Linked DNA regions of Homo sapiens: region 2 is linked to region 1. Evidence: promoter capture Hi-C in 16 types of primary human blood cells and fetal thymus (Javierre and others, 2016). All regions are on one chromosome and are shown on one strand. The core of a region is centred on a gene start or on the middle of the fragment in contact, and the rest is flanking DNA. Distances in the headings are between cores, read along the strand shown.

The links. The method cuts DNA at HindIII sites, captures the fragments that hold promoters and counts their contacts. A CHiCAGO score of 5 or more calls a contact.
Region 2: a fragment that was not itself captured here is called in contact with the fragment with the promoter of EFCAB6-AS1 in region 1 in 1 of 17 cell types (megakaryocytes); the score reaches 5.8 in megakaryocytes.

The regions. Positions count from the first base shown.
Region 1 is chr22:43,512,282-43,518,768 of GRCh38, forward strand. EFCAB6-AS1 (EFCAB6 antisense RNA 1) reads left to right here and starts at 3,973. Exons shown (of 3, transcript NR_046563.1): 1 at 3,973-4,095; 2 at 6,196-6,316. RefSeq lists an enhancer at 2,321-3,079 and a silencer at 2,354-2,701. The HindIII fragment of the contact is 5,518 bases long and covers 1-4,574 here.
Region 2 is chr22:43,745,451-43,751,569 of GRCh38, forward strand. All of the region lies in intron 6 of EFCAB6 (EF-hand calcium binding domain 6), which reads right to left. Among named protein-coding and RNA genes, the nearest start is that of EFCAB6, 64 kb to the right of the region's middle. The HindIII fragment of the contact is 3,912 bases long and covers 835-4,746 here.

The sequences.
Region 1 (6,487 bases), core at 2,723-5,222:
GGTAGGGTGACCCTCCCGTATCCCTAGGGGCCGAAAGCCCTGGTTACTGTCCCCTGATAGGCTGTGGTGTGTGCACCTGCCCACTTACCGCTGGAACTGGCTGTGGGAGCACCAGGAGATGCCCCAGCAGGCCCCCGAGTGCCAGGCACACATCTCCCTGTCCCTCATGTGGCAGTAGTCCTCTTTCCCGGTGATGGTCAAGGCCATCCCCCTGCCAGTGGGGGGGCTTTGTTCTTCGCTGCCTGTCTCCTGGCTCAGGAAGCCCAGGTGGGCCAGCTGACACCAGAGCTTTCAGTTGAGATAGCCTTGATGGAAGCATGAACCTCTGGAATCCGGGGCCTATAGACTTACAGAGCCTGTGCTGCAAGGGACTAGAGGCATAAATTCCCCACGTTGGTCACAGGGTGTGATGGTGGCCTGGGCCACCTCCCCCCAGCCCTTCGTTCCTAATTCCATCTTTCACAGACCCAGCAGCAGGTAAGGCCACTGCTAAAGGTATATGCTGCATCATAAGGCAGAGTGCCCATTTCCACAGGGGCCACCGTGGCGGAGCACCCGTCCCTGCCCAAAAGATAGTCAACCAAAGTCAGCACAGCTTCCCAAGGGGCGTGCGGAGGTCAGGACCACTCTCAAGGTTGGCCTCCAACACATCTCCAATTCCTCTGTCCACCTGGCCCCCCTGAAAATGATGGTCACAGCAGGTGACAGTGCACCACCAAAAATTTAGCCAAGAAATAGTCCAGTTGTAGCTGCTGTGCCAAATATGGTGTGTGTACTCAGCAGATGAACAGTTTTAAATACGGGGCTGTGCGGCTGCTGATCTGATGAATGTGTTCTTTTCAAAGCCCATCAGGAAGGAGGAACAAAATGGGTTTGCATCCCACTGGATGACCAGTGATAGACATGTGTGGCCTTGGCATGAAACTATGCGAAGTGTTTCACTCTCTGTCACAATGTGGTCCAAAGAGGCGGGTATTCTGGCCGTCCTGACACTGGCCCACAGGTTTGACGGCGTCACGTTAATCCGACGTGAGCAGTAAGACATGGTTGGGATGCTCTCCAGATACCTGGGTAAAACTCATGCACCCTAGAGAGTAGGAGATATCCACAAAGATGCAGGAGTTGGCCACATTGGTTCAAATTTTAGGGGTCTGGAGGCATGGGGTGTTATGACCTGAATTGTGCATCCCCAGATCCATATGTTGAAGATCTAATCCCTACTGGGTGTGTATTTGGAGAAAGGGCCTTCGAGGAAGTAATTAAGGTTAAATGAGATCATAAGGTGGGACCCTATACCTTAATAGTACTGGTGTTCCTTTAAGAAGATGACGAACTGGCTGGGTGTGGTGGCTTACCCCCTAATCCCAGCTCTTTGGGAGGCTGAGGCAGGTGAATCATGAGGTCAGGAGTTCGAGACCAGCCTGGCCAATATGGTGAAACCCTATCTCTACTAAAAATACAAAAATTAGGCGTGGTGGCACATGCCTGTAATTCCAGCTACTCGGGAGGCTGAGGCAGAAGAATGGCTTGAACCTGGGAGGCGGAGGTTGCAGTGAGCCGAGATCACGCCACCGCACTCCAGCCTGGGCGACAGAGTCAAAAAAAAAAAAAAAAAAAGAAAGAAAAAAGAAGATGAAGAACTTTGGGAGGCCAAGGTGGGAGGATCCCTTGAAGCCAGGAGTTCAAGACCAGCCTGGGAAATATAATGAGACCTTGTCTCTACAAAAATTCAAAAAATAAGCTGGGCATGGTAGCACACACCTATAGGCCCAGCTACTCAGGAGGCTGAGGTGGGAGGATTGTTTGAGCCCAGGGATTCAAGGCTGCAGTGAACCGAGAACACCACTGCACTCCAGCCTTGACAATAGAGTGAGACCCTGTCTCTAAAAAGAAAAAAAATAGGCTGGGCGCAGTGGCTCACATCTGTAATCCCAGTACTTTGGGAGGCCGAGGTGGGCGGATCACCTGAGATCAGGAGTTTGAGACCAGCCTGGCCAACATGGAGAAACCCCATCTCTACTAAAAATACAAAAGAAATCAGCTGGGCTTGTTGGCGCGTGCCTGTAATCCCAGCTACTTGGGAGGCTGAGGCAGGAGAATCGCTTGAACCTGGGAGGCGGAAGTTGCGGTGAGCCAAGATGGTGCCATTGCACTCCAGCCTGGGCAACAGAGTGAGGCTCTGTCCCAAAACAAACAAACAAATAAATAAATAAAAGAAGAGGAAGAGACACCTGGTTCAGGCTTTCACTCGGCCTTTCCTGCTGGAATGGTTCTTACCCTGCGGGCGCAGGAACCAGCGTGGCCAGCTCCCACAGCACAAAGTTTCCAGTATTTGCGAAGTATTTGCGAAGCAAGAAGTGACCGTTGCCGGGGTTTGCGGACCCAGCGAACACATGGCAAGGGGCGGGCCTGGAAGGGACCCGCCCCCCGATTCCCTGACTCCATGCCTCAGTGAACACGCGGCAAGGCAGGCCTGGAAGGCTGCATTCCCCTGGCCCCCCGATTCCCTGACCTTACGCCCATTTTCTCCCAGTGGGCACGACGGTGTTTCAGTTTCCAGGGTGTCGGCATCAACTCCAGCCCTGGATTCCACCTCCTTTCCCCAGCATGTGTTACCGAAGCGAATGACAGAGATCCCTGCGGGGAGGCCCGGGGCGCCCTTCTCACATGCTGACCAGGGCATTGCAGGATCGGTGTTCACGCAGGCTCTGCTTCTTCCCCCGGTGATGGGTCCGGGTCTGAGAGCTGGATTCAAGTGGGGAAACTGGGGAGGGGATTGTTACTCCCCATTGGGGCTACTCCGTGAGGGCAGGGCCTGGCCTCCCAGTTCCTACTGCAGTCTGTGCCTGGCACACAGAGCCGAGGCTGGAGTGTGCAGAGGGGAGTAGATGGGGCCACTCTGGAAGGTCTCAGTGAGGGGCTCCCACTGACCCTGTGGGCACTGGGTGGAGGACAAGGGGGAGGTCTAAGCAGGGAAGCAGGCTCTGATTTGTGGTCTGGGAAGTTGGAGTGGGGAAGCTGAGGGGCAATGAGGCTCAGGCAGGGGCTGCGTGGGGGTGGTGCCTCCCAGACCCCTTCAAATGGGACCAGCTATGTCATATGTGGGGCCAGGTGCAAAACTGAAATTGCAGACCCCAGCTAGGGGTGGGGAGGTGAATCTCCCTTCCCATGGGCCGGCCACCCCAACCCACAGGTGGCCCCGAGGCGTCACACTCAACCTTAGAATTGGGAGTGGGCAAGAGGCCCCCACTCAGCCACCTGCTGAGCACAGCCTGGCACTGCCAGTCAGGCAGGGATGGCTGCTGCCTTCCTCATTACCTCCCGGACACTCCTGGGCACATACCTAACCCCAGTCCTCCTGGTGCAGGCCCCGGCTCTGGCTCCTGAGGGGCAGAAAGCAACAGTGGAAGGCAGGCCTCCCCCGCTGATGTGGTTCGTCCCCAGCCTGGGTGACATGCACCAGGGGTCATGGGACAAAGGTGGGGAGGGGAGCCCGGTGGCACTGGGGCACCAGTGGCAGGAAGTGCATGGCAAAGAACCTGACCCAGGAAGGCAGGAAGGGGCAGGAGTGCAGTGGAGGGTGGGACAGCTCAGGAGTCAAGGTGCCATGCTCCATTGTTTCATCAGACTTCACTTACAAAACATCTGTTGAAGATATAATTAAGAATAAGGAGACCACAGCAAAGCCTTAACCCCAAGTGCAGGCTCCTTCTGTGCGCTCGGCCCCTGGCAGCTGCCCTGGTTGCACGCCTGAGAAGCTGGCCCTGTCTGCAAGTCTGATGTTGGGCAAGGCCTTCAGCCCCTGTTGCAGCCACAGCGCCCTCCTGAGGCATGGGCGGGGGGTGCCGGCCAGCCTGGGAAGGAGCTGGGATAGACACCTGGGCTCGTCCTTCACACCTCCACGGAGATGTCTTCACCGTCTGAGCCGAGAACACCTGCCCAGAGTCTTGCTTTGGGAAGATATATTTGCATATCTGAAGTACCAGCTATAATAGAAAAGCCGCCGTGGAAACGTCTTCTTGGGGTGCCCCCGATCGCAATAACAGTCTGGGTGCACCATGACAGCTTTCGCTATGCACACAGTCACTTGGAAAGGTAAGCATATTTGAAAAGCGGGGTGGGCGGAGATAAGACGTATTTCCCAGCCTTTCAAACGCCCTTCATTCGTGCTTGCCGTCAGCTTCTGCCCTTCTCCTGCCTGGTCAGAAACGGTTCAGATGGGGATGGGACCCTCAGGGAGCGGGGTGTCAGGGGGTGCTTCTGGCCTCCTGGGAGAGGCCTGCAAGCAAGGACAGGGACCTTCCTTCCTGGCCCTGCGGCTCCTCCTGGAAGGTGAGAGAAGCTGGTGGGACCTGCCCACTCACTGTGGCCAGGCTGCTTCCAGCCACGGTGGGGGTTCGTGGTTATCGTGCCTCCGTTGAGAACCCCCTCTTCACATATGGCCTGGACATATGGTCCTCCATGCAGCCTCTGGAAAGAGGCAATCACCACTCCACTCTGCGGGGGTGGACAGTGTGGATCAGTGGCTTTGCCAAGGTCACAAAGGTGGATGGTTAATCCTGAGTTGGAGCCCAAGCTTTCGTCATTTGACAATCACTCCACATGGATGGTGTGCCCTGCTTTCAGGCTCTATTCCAGGCAGGGGGCTACTGCTGGAGTTTATACTTCCTGGGGAGAAAGACAATAAAGCCAGGGCCAAGCCATCTCAGAGCTGCCAAGTGAGGGTTCCGAGGCCAACAAAACAGTCACAGGGTATGGGGTGACCACGGAAGGGGACCAGGTCACATCAGGCTTCCCGAGGAGGACTCCAAGATGATAAGAGGGCGCCAGCCATGTTCAGAGCTGAGGATAGAGAGAACGTGCCAGGCAGAGGGGCTGGCAGGTGCCAAGGCCCTGGGGCAGGAGCAGGCTGAGCCTCTCCAAGGAATATAACAGAGCCCAGCATGGTAGAGTCAGACAGAGTGAGGGAGGGTGAGTGAGGTCCACAGGGGCAGGGATGCTCCCTAGGCTGGGTCCTGGGGACAGACAGGCAAATGGCCCAAGTTCCCTGCCCTTAAGGGAGGCCTGTTATCCAGTGCCACAGTAACTGTGTGACAGCCCCGTCTCCGTGGCACACAATGTGTTTAGGGCTCCCACATCTGGGGTCCGCGGGGTCAGTGAGGTGCTCTGCTGAGCCTGGCTGGCTGTTGCCTGACACAGGATGAATCAGTCAGGGTGACTGGGTGACTGGACTATGTCCCACTTCTCTCTCGCCCTTCGCGGACCTGCCTGGGTGTGCTTTCATGAATGACAAAGGGGCAAACCCAACGGTAAGTCGAGTCAGGCACTTGTTTTTTTTGGTTTTTGTTTGTTTGTTTGTTTTGTTTTTTTGAGACAGAGTCTCACTTATCTCTCAAGCTGGAGTGCGGTGGTGAGATCTTGGCTCACTGCAACCCCCGCCCCCTGGGGTCAAGCGATTCTCTTGCCTCAGCCTCCCGAGTAGCTACTATTACAGGCAAGCACCACAATGCCCAGCTAATTTTTGTATTTTTAGTAGAGACAGGGTTTTGCCATGTTGGCCAGGCTGGTCTGGAACTCCTGACCTCAAGTGATCCACCCACCGTGGCCTCCCAAAGTGCTGGGATTACAGGCGTGAACCACCGCGCCCTTTTTTTTTTTCTTTAAAAACAATCTTTGTATTTTGCCTGGCATGGTGAGTCATGCCCGTAATCCCAACACTTTGGGAGGCTGAGTCAGGAGGGTCTCTTGAGCTCAGGGGTTTGATACCAGCCTGGGCAACAGAGCGAAATGCTGCCTCTACAAAAAAATAAACAAAATTAGCTGGCCATGGTGTCATGTGCCTGTAGCCCTAGGAACTTGAGAGGCTGAGGTGGGAGTATTGCTTGAGCCTGGAAGGTTGAGGCTGCAGTGAGCTGGGATCATGCCAGTTCACTCCAGCCTGGGTAACAGAGGGAGACCCTGTCTCAAACAAACAAACAAACAAAAAAAACCGTTTTTTATTTTGAAATACTTTTCCTTTTGAGGAAGAGTTGTAAGGCTAATACAGGGAGTTCCTCCATACCCTTCAGCCAGTTTCCCCTGTATATTCATGATACATTTATCCAAACTAAGAAATCAACACCAGTACAACACTGTTAAATATAGTCTTTATTTGGATGTCAACAGTTTTTGACTAGTGTCCTTTTTCTGTTCCAGAATCCAATCCATGATCCCAAGCTGCCTTTAGTCATCATGGCTCCCAACTGTCTTCCAGTCTAAGATGGTTTCTCCGTATTTCCTTGCTTCCTCTGGCCTTGGAAGTTTTGAGGCGTGCTGGGTGAGTATTTTGCGGACTGTCCTTCAGTTTGTGTTTGTCTGCTGTTTTCTCATGATTAGTCCGGGGTTATGTATTTTTTAGAAAAATCCCACAGAGGGGAAGGTGCCATCTCAAGTCATCCATCTAGGGTAATGCGAGAGGAGCAGGATGCATTCCTGGCGATGTGCATCT
Region 2 (6,119 bases), core at 1,541-4,040, 230 kb after region 1:
CAGCTCCTCACCCGGAGCCACTTTTTCTCACCTGGCTTCTAAGAGAAGGGGGTCAGGAACCGCATCCCACCCGCCTGCCTGTAGACTGAGACTGAGTCCCAAGGGGAGGGGGCTTCGGGCACCCCCATGTCTTGGCTCAGCAGCAAGCGGAAGAGTTCAACACCCACGGCTGTCAGTCTGGCACCTTTCTGTCTCCACCACTAAATTCATTTTAAATTTAAGAAGTACAGATTTGAAATGAAACCATGAAAAAGGATTTCTCTTACAATAAACACATCAATGCTCATTTTCCTTATTATTCTACTTTTGGCTATTTTGTATAAAATCTTTAATTAAAGTTTTTCTTTGAAATTGTCATTATCAACCCAGAAGAAAGGAAGGGGGAAAAAAGAACAACACAGCTGTGCAGATATGAAGCACTATTCAGGACTAAATGAACTGGAACGAAATAAGTAGCTTGACTGTTATGTTCTTAGTTTTGGCTCTGTATTCTCAATAGCACAGTCTAACTTGTCACTTTATATCGATTCCATCTGTTTACACTCTGCAGAGTATTGGCTTCCTACCGTGAACATTTCCTATTTACCAGCTGGTAGAGATGCGCCAAACCAGATAGGAAAAAATTAGACTACATTCAGAACCTCATAAACACAAACTTCCAATCCGGGGACAAGCGGGAAGCGGGGGCCGGGCATCGCTCACCTTTCACAAAAGCCTCGCCTCCCTGCCTCTGGGCTGATGCTCTCATTGCTCTGGCAGTTGCCCTCGCAGGCCAAGGACTACAAATTTCTTTACTGACCATAGGCATACCCTGCCTTTACCAAAAATCGAAAAAGCTTACTGAAAAAGATATCCAAATAAGATCCACAAAAATGGAGAAAAGAAAGCTGACCCCGAAAAAATGAGCTAAAGAAACCTAAAAGTCATAGTTGACACAATGAAGCAAAACTCTGGTTCGGGGTCTCCTTGCAGCCAAGATGAAGAGGGAAACTCGTGCTTATATAAAGTCCACAGGCCATGTAAACCTTCCCCCACATTCAATTTTTCATTTTTAAAATGCTTACCTGTAACGTATAGCTTATAGACTTCTTTTAAGAAACTCTAGCTACCCATTGAGCTTACGATACAGCTATGAAAAGGTGCCCCGTCTATAAGCTGAGGGACTTACAAGGGTGCCAGGCTGGGTGCGGTGGCTCATGCCTGTAACCCCAGCACTGTGGGAGGCTGAGGCAAGAGGACTGCTTGAGGCTAGGAGTTCAAGACTAGCCTGGGCAATATAGTAAGACCCCATCTCTACAAAAAATTAGAAATTAAAATTTTAAAAAGGGCTGCTGATCTATAAGAAATCTTTCCTTTCTTTCCTTTCTTTCTTACCCAGCCCACACTCATAGGATGGGTACTCCACCTCAGCTGCCACGGGCCAAGAATCTTGGGGCCCCTAAGAGCCCTGGCCTCAGCTCACTCACAGGACAGAGCTGCACACCAGCAGGGGCAAGCCTGGAAGATCAGAAGCCACTATGCTGACCCAGCATCCTGCTGCTTATCTGGACCTCATGCAAGAGGATGCTGCTTTGAGAAAGACAAACCGCAGAAGACTGTTCAGGTTACGTGAAAAGTTTCCCAGGCTGGGCCAATGCTGGGTACTGCCAAGTGGCTGTAGCACTTTGCCAAGAGCCTAGCCAGCCACAGACCACCTCACCTAAGAAATAGACCAGAATCACATTTTAGAGTAGAAAAAGACTTTGTCTGTCGTCTCCCCCAGCATTTCCCAAAATGGCGTTCCTCCAAACACAAGTTCTTCTGGATCTAGAGCTAAACAAACACATGCACGGAAAGGCTGGCTGCAGCAACATTCAATAGATTTCTATACAGCAGCCTCCTCTGAGCCTTCACTATGCTAACGTACATTGTGAATCCTCAAGGACTAGGGGAACAGCACTGGAGAAGCTGGGGCCGGCTCTGGGGGACCAAATCTGCAGGACCTAGTGGTTAACTGTATGTAGAGGGTGAGGGAAAGGAAAGTCGAAGTGGCGCCCAGTTTCTGCCTTGGTGACCTGACTGGATAAGATCAACAATGTAGAATATGTTGCAGGTTTGGGGAGGAAGACTGTTAGCTCACTCAGTGCACACTCAGCTGGGAGTGCCTACGTCCTCCCCGTTCACCCCCGTAGACATCTTTCTTCCTGGCAAATTGATCCAGTTGGTGGGAGAACACCCACCCTGTGCCCTCCTGCCTGCCTTCTGTTCATTCATGAATTCCTAGACTTAATGAGCCCCTGCTATGTACACACCATCTGAAGTCTTACCCTTCCTCTAAGGCCTGGTTCAAACCAATCACCCTCCCTGGGTACCTCCCCAGTAGCCAATAGGGGTGACTTTCTCTTACAAAGTCTTAGAGAGTTTACTGTCCACATCTCTCAGCTGTCAGTATGAGCAACTTGTATCACTTTATTCCCTAACTCCTCCTGATCTAGGTGATATACCGCCCAATAAACACATTTTTAAACCATCATAATGTGTTGCTTACGCTTGTGTCCCCAAGGTGATTTTAAGTTTCTGGAGGACAAGAATCAGGCCTTAGTCTTCTTTGTATCCCCAATAACCACATGGTGTCCCCACAACACCAGTAGGTGCTCAACAAATGCAGACGATGATGGTAAGAGGGTGACCGATGACTTCCAAGCCTGGTAACAGGTACGCCTGACTCCAGTTGCTTTCCCAGCAAATGCACCCATGATGCTGCTGACAGCACTCTCCTAAATACATCATAACCCCCTTATCAGAAACCTTCAGTCATCCTCCTCCTGACCCATGCCGAAGGGTTAAAACCTGGCCTTCAAATGCATCTTTTCCGCCAGTCTACCTTTCAAAACTGATCTGTCCCAACTTGCCTTGAGAAACATAACTCTACAGAATAGCCGCAGGGCTTGTCTCCTTGCGGTGCTCTGGCCACAGCCCGGCTTCCCTCTCCTCATGTCCTTTTCTTAGGCCAGGTTGCAATTCTGAAAACTACCCCACATCTCTTCCCCTATCCCATCCTCAACGTGCATTGCAAGTCTATCTATGGTCCAAACTCAAGCTCCAATATCACCTTCCTCATCCAATTGTTCCTGGCTATTCCAAGGAATATGAACTTTTCTACAAAACTTTCTTTATTCATACAATAATTATTTACTGAGTGTATATCCGGCTCTAGGAACTGTTCAAGGCACTGAAGTTACCACAGTGGACAGGACAGAAAAGGTGCCTGCTCCCACAGAACACAGATCCCAGTCACAAACAAGCAAACAAACAACATTTCAGAATGTTCTACGTGTTACGGAAAATGTACAGTTTTAGGGTAGTCAAAAGACATCTCACTAGAGAGCTCTCTCGGGCAGAGCTCTGAAAGCTGGGACATTTAACTGAAGTGTACTCGATGCACAAGCAAAAGACATGGGTATGTTCACCAGAGAAGTCTGACGGGCTCTGGCTTATGTTTTGAACGGATAACTCTGGCTGTTGTGTGGAATGCAGATTATAAGGGGCAAGAGAGGCAACGGGAAACCCAGCTAAGGAGTCACTGACAAAGCACAGGCCAGCAACAATGGTGGCTTAGGTATAATGATGGCAGTAGGGATGGATCAGAAGTGTCCGGGTTTGGGATCTAGTTCAGGATACAGTAGACATAACTTGCTGACGGCCTGCATATGGGAGGGGCACTGGTAAGGGAGAGGTAATCAAGACTGGTCCTTGGTTTCTGCTTGAATGAATGATGAGTGGTAGAACCATTTACTGACCTGGGAGGAAGGATTCTTGGGGTGGGGCAGGAGGACAGTCACGAGTTACGTTTTTGTCTGTGGACACTGGTGAGTCTGGGGCCTCAGAAGGAGATATAAACGTGGGCACCCTCAGCATATAGCCCTCTTATTCTTCCCCTAGTAGCTTTCAATCCTAGAGCAGCAGTCCCTAACCTTCTGGGTACCGGGGACCAGTTTTGTGGAAGACAATTTTTCCATGGGCCAGTGGGGAGGGGGTATGGTTTCGGGATGAAACTGTTCCACCTCAGACCATCAGACACTAGTTAGATGGTTCTCATAAGGAGCGTGCAACGTAGATCCTCGCATGCGCAGTTCACAATAGGGTTCGTGCTCCTATGAGAAGCTAATGCCGCTGCTGATCTGACAGGAGGCGGAGCTCAGGCGGTGATGCTCATTTGCCCACCGCTCACCTCCTGCTGTGCATTCTGGTTCCCGACAGGCCACCAACCAGTACAGGTCTGCAGCCTGGGGGATGGGGACTGCTGCCCTAGATGATCGCATGCCATCCTTTAACTTCCCACGTAAGAACTCGCATGCTTTGTGTCCTCTAAATACAAACTCCTAATTTTGTTGAGTAACTTCTATGTGCCCAGCACTACGGTGAGTTCATTTTATATTTATTCTCACACAGAATCCCAATAACACTGAGAAAACCTTGCAATATTGTTCACCCAGTTCACAGATGGGGAAAGTCTCGAAAGAGGCAAGACTAGCTTGCTCAGGATCACTCAGAGAGTCCGTGTTGGTGTTCAAATGCATGCTTGGACTTGCTAAGGCCAGAGCTCCAGACTGTACCCCCACACCATGCTGCTTTAAACATTTACCCCTACAATCTTGCGTTTGCACTATTAATTTGTCACACACAGGAAGATTAAAAAAAAAACCTTAGTCCGAAATAATTGCAAATTCTGATATTGCAGAATCTTTGCTGTAGTTCCTTCATGAAAGCTTTAGTAAATTAATGATACAGCAACCAAAAATAGGTCCTGGGGTAGAAGTATTCTCAATATAATTTTTTAATAAAATGCCAACGGATTATTTTGTGGTGTGAGATTCTCTAGATCAAAATATAAGTGCTACTCTTCATTTAGATGCACGGAGACACAAGAATAAAAGCTGTGACATTATTAATCACTATATTCAGTTATGATTGATAGGCTTTTCTGCGGGGAGGAAACAGTGTCTCAGATACAATCTGTCCCAACAGCTCTACGATATGCTAATATTTTCTTCAGATGAAAGAGGAGATGTGTTCAAATACCTGCTACAATAGGCAATTAATACCAAGTGCAGCAAAGTAGAGCTGATGAAAGTAGGATTAGGGGAATATTAGGAATTAACCAAGAGCTTGCTTGTTTTAGTAAATGGCCTCATTTTGAGCTTGACACAGCCTTTTTGTTAGGCAAACAGACTGCATTCCTGTCTATTCATTCATGCTAATGTAGTGTTATAAAATTAAGGTGTGTTTATGAAATGGTGGTGATTCTAACAACTGATTCTTTATCCCTTGAATATTAAATTTTTAAATGTCTTTTTAAAGAAAATTCACCTCTTTAAGAGAATGAATCTACCCACCACTTTTGTCTCTTCTTCATGAGGATATTACAGAGCAAGCCAGCAGCTCAGCAATTATAATTATTTACTAATTACTTCTGAAATGACTATCTCCACACACCTCCAAGGCACCAGGGTAATCCCATAAAAACCTGTGTCAGATCACTCAGTGTCCAACAGACACGCTTGTCACAGCCGACTGGGTAGACCAGATGTTCTGGCATCATGGTGCCTGAACCTTCAAGCATTTTTTTCTTCTGAGAGCTCCCTGACTTGGGTAGTGACACGGTACAAGAGCAAACAGCCTGGGGCTTAGAATGCTTTGTTTTTCTTTATGTACTTCTTTAACTGAATATACATTCTTTAATTCTAGTCTTCAGTGAAGAACGTATTTTTTTTGTGAGGGGGAGAGTCACGACCTTCTGAACATACACTGTATTCCTATACAGGTCAGAATAGCTTTCTGTTTCTCAGTACTTCCCTCAACAGGGCTTACAATGAGCCCTCACCTCACCTTAGGTGGTAAGATGGGATTTTCTTCCTGTCTTAGCCACTCCTATCTTCACCTCTTGTCGGGAGTTGACAAATGATAGATGGAATAAAAAAACTTACACTTCGTTAGCCTGGCAACACACTGCATCTTTGTTCAAGTTCTTTCTCTCCTGGCAGTCCTCGCCTGAAGAATGTGAGGAAGCTGTCTGAGGTCTCGGGCGCTGCCACCACTCCAGGATGGAGCTGGGACCCCACAGGCAGACAGGGTGCATG